Regions from separate parts of the Homo sapiens genome. Here all the other regions are linked to region 2. Evidence: promoter capture Hi-C in 16 types of primary human blood cells and fetal thymus (Javierre and others, 2016). All regions are on one chromosome and are shown on one strand. Each heading gives the region's core, a stretch centred on a gene start or on the middle of the fragment in contact. The rest is flanking DNA. Distances are from core to core; before and after follow the strand shown.

The links. The method cuts DNA at HindIII sites, captures the fragments that hold promoters and counts their contacts. A CHiCAGO score of 5 or more calls a contact.
Region 1: a fragment that was not itself captured here is called in contact with the fragment with the promoter of NFE2L2 in region 2 in 1 of 17 cell types (non-activated CD4 T cells); the score reaches 5.5 in non-activated CD4 T cells.
Region 3: a contact is called between a fragment that was not itself captured here and the fragment with the promoter of NFE2L2 in region 2, in 1 of 17 cell types (non-activated CD4 T cells). The highest score is 6.8, in non-activated CD4 T cells.

What each region holds. Positions count from the first base shown.
Region 1 is chr2:174,482,348-174,485,047 of GRCh38, reverse strand. The region is part of intron 1 of GPR155 (G protein-coupled receptor 155); the gene reads left to right. Among named protein-coding and RNA genes, the nearest start is that of GPR155, 3.3 kb to the left of the region's middle. The HindIII fragment of the contact is 4,228 bases long and covers 1-2,700 here.
Region 2 is chr2:177,263,311-177,266,087 of GRCh38, reverse strand. NFE2L2 (NFE2 like bZIP transcription factor 2) reads left to right here and starts at 1,361. Exons shown (of 5, transcript NM_006164.5): 1 at 1,361-1,556. The coding sequence starts at 1,512. RefSeq lists silencers at 1,218-2,087, 2,348-2,507 and an enhancer at 2,188-2,777. The HindIII fragment of the contact is 5,708 bases long and covers 1-2,777 here.
Region 3 is chr2:174,595,732-174,598,431 of GRCh38, reverse strand. WIPF1 (WAS/WASL interacting protein family member 1) reads left to right here and starts at 628. Exons shown (of 8, transcript NM_001375834.1): 1 at 628-831. RefSeq lists an enhancer at 426-605. The HindIII fragment of the contact is 390 bases long and covers 1,242-1,631 here.

The DNA.
Region 1 (2,700 bases), core at 61-2,560, 2.8 Mb after region 2:
ACTTTTTTATCATTATTAGTAGTAAGACAACAGTTCCTAATAGCAATTGCTGCCGTTTTTTGAAGGCCTACTCTGTGATAAGCTGTATATAAAATATTCTATCCACACAATATCCCTCTAAGGAGGTCTTTGTTTGAGACAGGGTCTTACTCAGGCTGGAGTGCAGTGGTGTGATCATGGCTCACTGCAGAGACCTCCTAGGCTCAGGTGATCCTCCCACCTCAGCCTCCCAGGTAGCTGGGACAACAGGCACGCATGACTAAGCTCAGCTAATTTTTTGTAGAGACTAAGGTTTTGCCATGTTGGCCAGGCTGGTCTGAAACTCCTGGGCTCACACAGTCCACCTGCCTGGGCCTCTCAAAATGCTGGGATTACAGGCGTGAGCTGCTATGACTGATCCCTATAGGGAGGTTTTTACTCTCATTTTACAGTTGAGGAAACAAAGGTTCAGAAAGACTAAGTAACTTATGAGTTGATAAACCATAAAGCTCAGAATCTGTTTGACTCTCCACTGAACTTCTGCTAGTTTAAACTGTTGGTTAAAAAATATTATTGGAATGCCTTGACATGCTCGTGTTGTACAAGTAAGGGCTTATAAGCAGAATGAGTTATTAATACTCTAGGCACTTTTGAAAGTGAACAGAAGACTGGATTAATTTATCACTTTCCTGTTTAGCACTGCCTTTCCAAGTACACACCGTCTTAAGGGCTCCAAATGTTTAACGCCTTTGTTTAATTGTTTACCAGCTCCTTACTTCAAGTATGTGTATCTGTACCAACCGGTAGCTTTCCCAAGATATAATTTGATGCTTATTTGGTAAACTTCAAGTATGTGAGTAGTGTAGGTTTCATGTACTATATTGACCACTGCTATCTAATCCTAGTAGGAAAATACTTGTCCTAATCCAGATTAAATATAAGGTTTTCAAATGGTTCGGTTTATACAAGGGTAGCACAGAGAAAATTCCCTTGTACCCACGCCAGCTATCAGTTGTTGGTGATCTCTGGGCTGCCATCTAAGTCTTTTTAATGTGATATAGATGTTTGAGGACTTAACCTGAGCATTGTAAATTTCTGGAAGCATGAGCTTTTTACTTTCTACCTTATATCAGTCTACTTTAGATGGTAAACCCAGAATAATCACTTAGAAATTGGCTATTGTTGGCTGGGCGTGGTGGCTCACACCTATAATCCCAGCATTTTGGGAGGCCGAGGCGGGCAGATCACCTGAGGTTGGGAGTTTGAGACGAACCTGACCAACATGGAGAAACCCCGTCTCTACTAAAAATTCAAAATTAGCCAGGCATGGTGGTGCATGCCTGTAATCCCAGCTACTCGGGAAGGCTAAGGCAGGAGAATCTCTTGAACCTGGGAGGCGGAGGTTGAGGTGAGCCGCAATCACGCCATTACACTCCAGCCTGGGCAACAAGAACAAAACTCCATCTGAAAAAAAAAGAAAAAGAAATTGGCAATTGTCGTCATTTTAATTTCAAGATACTAATAAAAGCTGATTAGCTTTAGAGTTATCCAGACCTCATGTTCATTGTGTTCCTGGCAGCAAGAGGGGGTCTGATAATTATTGTACTATTCGTGTTTTGAATTTGTTCCATGCTTTAGCATTTTCTGAACCTCTTTAGAACATTTTACAAAACATTTTGTATTTTTTAACATTTCATGAACACCTTTAGACATATTTTGTGTTCTTGGTTCTGTTGCTGTAGTGGAAAACTTATAATACTTTATCATTCAGAAAACAAAAAAAAATTCTGTCTGTAAACTAAATAGTGCCTGAAAGAGAACATTGATCCATGAAAGGGTAAAAGGTTTAAGTATAAGTAATTATAGTTATTCATTAAAAAAAATTTTTTTTTCTGTCTCGTGTATGCCAGGTACTGTCCTAGATGTTAAGGACACAACATTGAGCAAAAACATGCATAGTCCCTGCTTCCGTGACACTTGAGTGAACTGAATGTGCAAAGTCCCTGTGGCACAAAGTCCCTGGGGCCAGTGTGTGTGGCGGGTGTAGAAGGAGCTAAAGGTATATTGGTGGGAGGTCGTCATTTTTTTCTCTCTCTCATGTTCTACCAAAAGTTATATTTAACTTCCGTTAAGTAATTACTCTGTTCCAGATGTGATTATAAAGACTTCAGTGGAATAATCGCAAGTTCCCATGTGGTAGGTATTACTATTATTGCCATTTTACAGGTGAAGAAGGTGAGACACAGAAAAGTTAAAGTTAATTCGTTCAGGTCGGGCACAGTGGCTCATGCCTGTAATCCCAGCACTGTGGGATGCTGAGGCAGGCAGATCACCTGAGGTCAGGAGTTCAAAACCAGCCTAAGCAACATGTCGCTACAAAAATACAAAAATTAGCCGGGCGTGGTGGCACACGAATCGCTTGAACCCAGGAGACAGAGGTTGCACTGAGCTGAGATTGCACCACTGCACTCCAGCCTGGGAGACAGAGCAAGACCCTGTCTTTAGAAAAAAAAGTTATTGGTTTAAAGTTGATTAGTAGTGCTCTACTATACCCTTCTTCCCATCCTATATTCAAATATGACCACGGGCTGGAAAGGACTCTGGTCCCTGGGTGACTCCTCAATGTAGCCTTGAGAACTTCTGAAATTTCCAGAGAATTTGGATGCATGGGGACATTCAGCGGAGACTATGTGTGCCCGATGCCCTTATCCACCAGGCGGA
Region 2 (2,777 bases), core at 112-2,611:
GCTCTGCAGCTTTTTGGGCGTTGATTGCTATAGTCAGGGGTGTGTGTGTGGTTTTTGAATGAAATAGCAAAACCACTGCCAGTATTATCTACTTCACCTGGTTTTGAATAATTCCAGGAAGCTAGAAACTGAAAACCAGTCTTGTATAGAGTTAGAAAGATTGTAAATGCAGAAGAGGAAGAAAAAAACAAAACTAAACCATTTATCTATCCTCTTTGAACCCTTATAAGAGTTCACAATATTCCTCGTTTCAAATACTTGAAGTCTTCTCTGGGCAATGATTAATTTTTAAATAATTGTTTTTAATGTAAGACATAAAACATACGCACTGCAGATTTAAAGCATACTTGGAAGTAACAAGGAGAAACATAAAAATCGTTGATTCCACAGCATTTAATATATTGGTAACCTTCAATTTTTTTCTAGGCACGTTTTTATAAAATGAGCCAATACTATACAAACGTTTTTGTAACTTTTTTTAATTTGTACTATTTTGTGAGTACGTGAAAAAGAAATTTGTAAAGAGTAAACGATTACAGCATGTTGTGGTATTACACACTGTTGAAGGGCGCCATCTGTGGCGTGGTGGCTGCGCTTTGGTGGGAAGAGGTTCTCTTGGGGTTCCCGTTTTTCTCCCAGCTCTGGGTGGGCAATACTGACCACTCTCCGACCTAAAGGGGCTTCTCCGTTTGCCTTTGACGACCTGAGCTTAGGAGAATGGAGACACGTGGGAGTTCAGAGGAGGGCGTTCAGGGTGACTGCGAACACGAGCTGCCGGAGCTGTCCACATCTCCCCTAGGCAGGGCCCACTGGCCCCAGCCCGGGAAGGGAGCAAGGGCGGGAGGGCAGTTGGCAGTGGCACGGTCTGGGTCCAAATCTTTAGCCCCCCCCACCCCGGCTGGCGCCATTCTCGGGCGGTAAAGTGAGATAAAAGCAGGGCAAGGTTCTGCAACTCCAAATCAGGGAGGCGCAGCTCCTACACCAACGCCTTTCCGGGGCTCCGGGTGTGTTTGTTCCAACTGTTTAAACTGTTTCAAAGCGTCCGAACTCCAGCGACCTTCGCAAACAACTCTTTATCTCGCGGGCGAGAGCGCTGCCCTTATTTGCGGGGGAGGGCAAACTGAACGCCGGCACCGGGGAGCTAACGGAGACCTCCTCTAGGTCCCCCGCCTGCTGGGACCCCAGCTGGCAGTCCCTTCCCGCCCCCGGACCGCGAGCTTCTTGCGTCAGCCCCGGCGCGGGTGGGGGATTTTCGGAAGCTCAGCCCGCGCGGCCGGCGGGGGAAGGAAGGGCCCGGACTCTTGCCCCGCCCTTGTGGGGCGGGAGGCGGAGCGGGGCAGGGGCCCGCCGGCGTGTAGCCGATTACCGAGTGCCGGGGAGCCCGGAGGAGCCGCCGACGCAGCCGCCACCGCCGCCGCCGCCGCCACCAGAGCCGCCCTGTCCGCGCCGCGCCTCGGCAGCCGGAACAGGGCCGCCGTCGGGGAGCCCCAACACACGGTCCACAGCTCATCATGATGGACTTGGAGCTGCCGCCGCCGGGACTCCCGTCCCAGCAGGTGCTGCCTCGGCCCTCTGGGCCCTGCGGTGGTGCCGGGACGGGGGCGGGGGAGCTAGGGAACCGCGGCCCGGGAGGGACAGCCGCAACCGGCTTCCCCCACGTCTGGCCAGAGCCAGGACCGCGGCGCTGGGTAGAGCCGCCGCGCTTGCGCCGGGGCAGGGCGGGGAGGGGCAGCGGGGACGCGGCCGGGTGATCCGACCGACCACGAGCCCGAGGGCGAACGGGTGGGAAGTTGCGGGAAGGTCTGGGGACTGAGCCCGCTCGCGTGGGCCTTGGGGGAGAATCCAGCCGCGTCCCCGGGCCCGAGAGCTGGGACTCCGGAGCCCCTAAGTTTGAGCGGCCCGGTGGGCGGCGGGGCAAGAGGGGGCGGACGCTGGCCGTCTGAGCCGGCGCGGCCCGGCCCTTCCGGGGCTGCGCGGCTCCCCCGCCTCGGTGCCGGCAAAAATGTGCCTAGTCACGGGGCCGCTCTCGGGGGAACTGAGGTCGCCTTCGGGCTGGGACCCGGAGCCCCTTCGCCGCGCCCCAAGACCTCCTTGAGTGCGGGCTGCGACGCGCTCACCCCGCTGGGCCGTCTGTGGGCGCGGCTTTGCGAAGTCATCCATCTCTCGGATCACTCTCTGGCAGCCTTGAGCTCTCTTGAAAGCCCAGCCCCGGGACGAGGGAGGAGCGCCTTAAGTGCCCAGCGGGCTCAGAAGCCCCGACGTGTGGCGGCTGAGCCGGGCCCCGCGCACTTTCTCGGCCGGGGAGGGGTTCGGGCTCGGGCACCCGGAGTTGGCCCCTCGTAACGCCGCGGGAAAGTGCGGGCGAGGGCAGTGGACTCTGAGGCCGGAGTCGGCGGCACCCGGGGCTTCTAGTTCGGACGCGGTGCCCCCTGGTGGCGCTCACCGCGCGCGTGGCCTTGGCTTCCGTGACAGCGCTCGGTTGGCCGTCACAGCAGCCCTCGGTTGGCCCTTTCCTGCTTTATAGCGTGCAAACCTCGCCGCGCCAGGGCCAAGGGACAGGTTGGAGCTGTTGATCTGTTGCGCAATTGCTATTTTCCCCAGAGCGGCTTTGTCTTTGGATTTAGCGTTTCAGAATTGCAATTCCAAAATGTGTAAGACGGGATATTCTCTTCTGTGCTGTCAAGGGTAAGAGTTGCGAGTGTAGATTAGAATTTCTGTTGCTTTTAGTCTGTTAGTAATTTTTTGCTTTCAGCTATTATTTCTCCCCTGAGTACTTT
Region 3 (2,700 bases), core at 187-2,686, 2.7 Mb after region 2:
GCTGAGGCTGGAGGATTGCTCGAACCCAGGAGGTCAGGGCCACAGGGAGCTATGATTACGCCACTGCACTCCAGCCTAAGTGACAGCAAGACTGTCTCTCTAAAAAAAAAGAAATAAATAAAACAAAACCAAAAAAAGAACCTCATTTGCCTTCATACACCTGACCTGCTCTCTTTACCTGCATTTGTAACTTTCTCCCCACACACTTGAATGCCCTGTAAATGAGAAGAAGCCCTTAGCCTAATGAAGCGATAAGGTAAGGTAGGTAAGAGCTTTTCTTTCTTGAGTGACTCTTTTCCCTATTACTCAATGGAATAGTCAGTATTTACAGTGATACTTTCAAATATAATTTTCCTAAAGGAATCTCAAGTTCCATGAACAGTTATTTTTGTGGGAATATCTAGAATAAAGTTGGACTCTTCACTGAGTGGAGGTGCTCATCTCCTCTTGTCACTGTACCAAATAGCTGTGTATTACACCTTGTGGGGAGGAGAAACATTTAATTTTTTTTAATTTAGGTTTTTTTTCTTGCTTGCTTCTTAAGCAAAACCAATCTAGTTTCTTTTTCTGCAGCAAAGGAGGAAGGAACAACAAACAACAAATTAATCAGACAGGAAGCGAATAACCACAGAAGGACGTCTGCCTCTGACTCAGTATGTCACATTTAACAAGAGGCCAGAGCTTGTCCAAAATGGCTGTCCAAAAACGACCCCACACTTGCGTTAGAAGATGATACCTTTTTCAGGGACAGTTTTCTCTCTTGGCTCCTGTCCCGCTGGCCCTCTGTCTGCCTGTGTCCCTGACCATGGCTCCCTGCAGTACCCTTTAACGGTAAGAAAAATTATATTCAAACTAAGTTTATTTCATTTATCAGCTACAGGGAAGAACTAAATGGCTTTTAATGGACCATAGTATGTCAAGATAAAGTTGTTTAATTTTTCTGTAGAGCACCATGTGAGCTATTCCTGTTGCCCAGAATGCTAGTTTCACCACTATGGTGATTGTGAATGATTCATAACTTATGCTTTGAGCCAAAATGTAAGCAAGATTTTCAATAGAATTTTTTTGACCACTGGACAAGTTTGGATCCACAGGAATTTATTTTCCCATTTAAATTGGGGGCTTATGTCGGTAAATATATCCTTTTGGTGTATGATACAGTTGTCCACACAACTGCCTTTGAATCTTTGGTGTGGCCAGCAACAATAAGTGCTTTAAAGTACAAGGAGCCATTGGAAGCTTCAAACGAAAATACCATGGAACTAAGCTGTTGCAGTTCTGTTGCTGCCAATGTGCTATTTAAGTTCAAAACTCAAACTAAACCATTTCTAAGCAGAGTCTTTTATAATACGATTTGTCTTTTAGAATAAGTCTATTCCTGTTATAACAGTGTGTGCACAATTACTATCGCAAATCAAATTCTACAGCATTAGTTATAACTTTATGTTTAATATGATTAATGTTTTGGCATAAAATATTGTGATTTTTAAAATTTCAAGCCATCTACTCAGAGGCTTATAGAGCAGAACTAAGGAAACTTTTTACATTAAAAAACTTTTTTCTAGAATATGTAGGAAGAAACAATTTGACTTATGTTCCTTTCTCCCCGTGAAGAAATATAAAATAAAGCTTTAAAAAACTCAGAAGGCACATATAACTTTAGTCACTAAGTACAAGTTTTTTGTTTTTTTTGTTTTTGTATTTTTAGTAGAGACAGGGTTTCATCATGTTGGTCAGGCTGGTCTCAAACTCCTGACCTCAAGTGATCTGCCCGCCTCGGCCTCCCAAAGTGCTGGGATTACAGGCATACAAGTTATTTTAAATAATTTAATGGCATAACTAGTATATGTAGTAGAGAATGGAGAGGTGGTAAATGAAAAGGCTACTGAAAGATTCTAACTAAGCAAAGTAAGACAGCTTGGTAGAGAGAAAGATGAAAGACTGGGGAAAGAATAGGACAGGACAGTGAGAAAGGAAGATGAGAAACTGGGAAAAGGTTTTGAGGTTGATCTGTGTGGAAATCATACTCTTACAATTCACTTGGACTACAGTGCTATGTGTTAACTTTATCAAGCTTTGTTCTTCTGTACTGGAATATCATCATGTCAAAACTCTTCCTTTTATCAGTCTAAGGTCATTAAATGACTTACCTGAAAGTCATTTTTCACTAAGTCAGGTTTTCTATTGCTCTTTGAAAAGTTTATTCATGGGCTATTTGCTCATAGCGCTTCAGCTACTCTAATATCTAACCTTTTAAGGGTTACACATACTCTGGGTGGACTGAAATATTCAGAGAACTCCCTGTGGTGAAAATTAGTTCCTGGGATCGAGCAGCAACTTCAGATCTGATCAAATTCTAAATCTGGCCTGTAGGCTGGAAGTTCCCCAGCCTACCTAAAATATGAGATGAAGTGATACTGAATTCCTGGACCCTTTAAGTGTTATGACCTTTTGAAGCCTTCTTAACATTTTATGAACACACATCATTTACTTTGGAAGTTTCTGGCTGTTTAAATTATGATATATTTCTGCTTTAAGGTTTGACTCATTTTGTCCAAATTGTTAAACATGTGCTTGTTGTTGAAGAAAGCATTTCTCCTGGACTTCCATAAATACCTCTGTCTGTCCTGAAAATTAAAACTGTAAAAAAATACTAGAATAAGGAATGCCTTAATCAGTATGCTTTTCTGAGAAATTTGA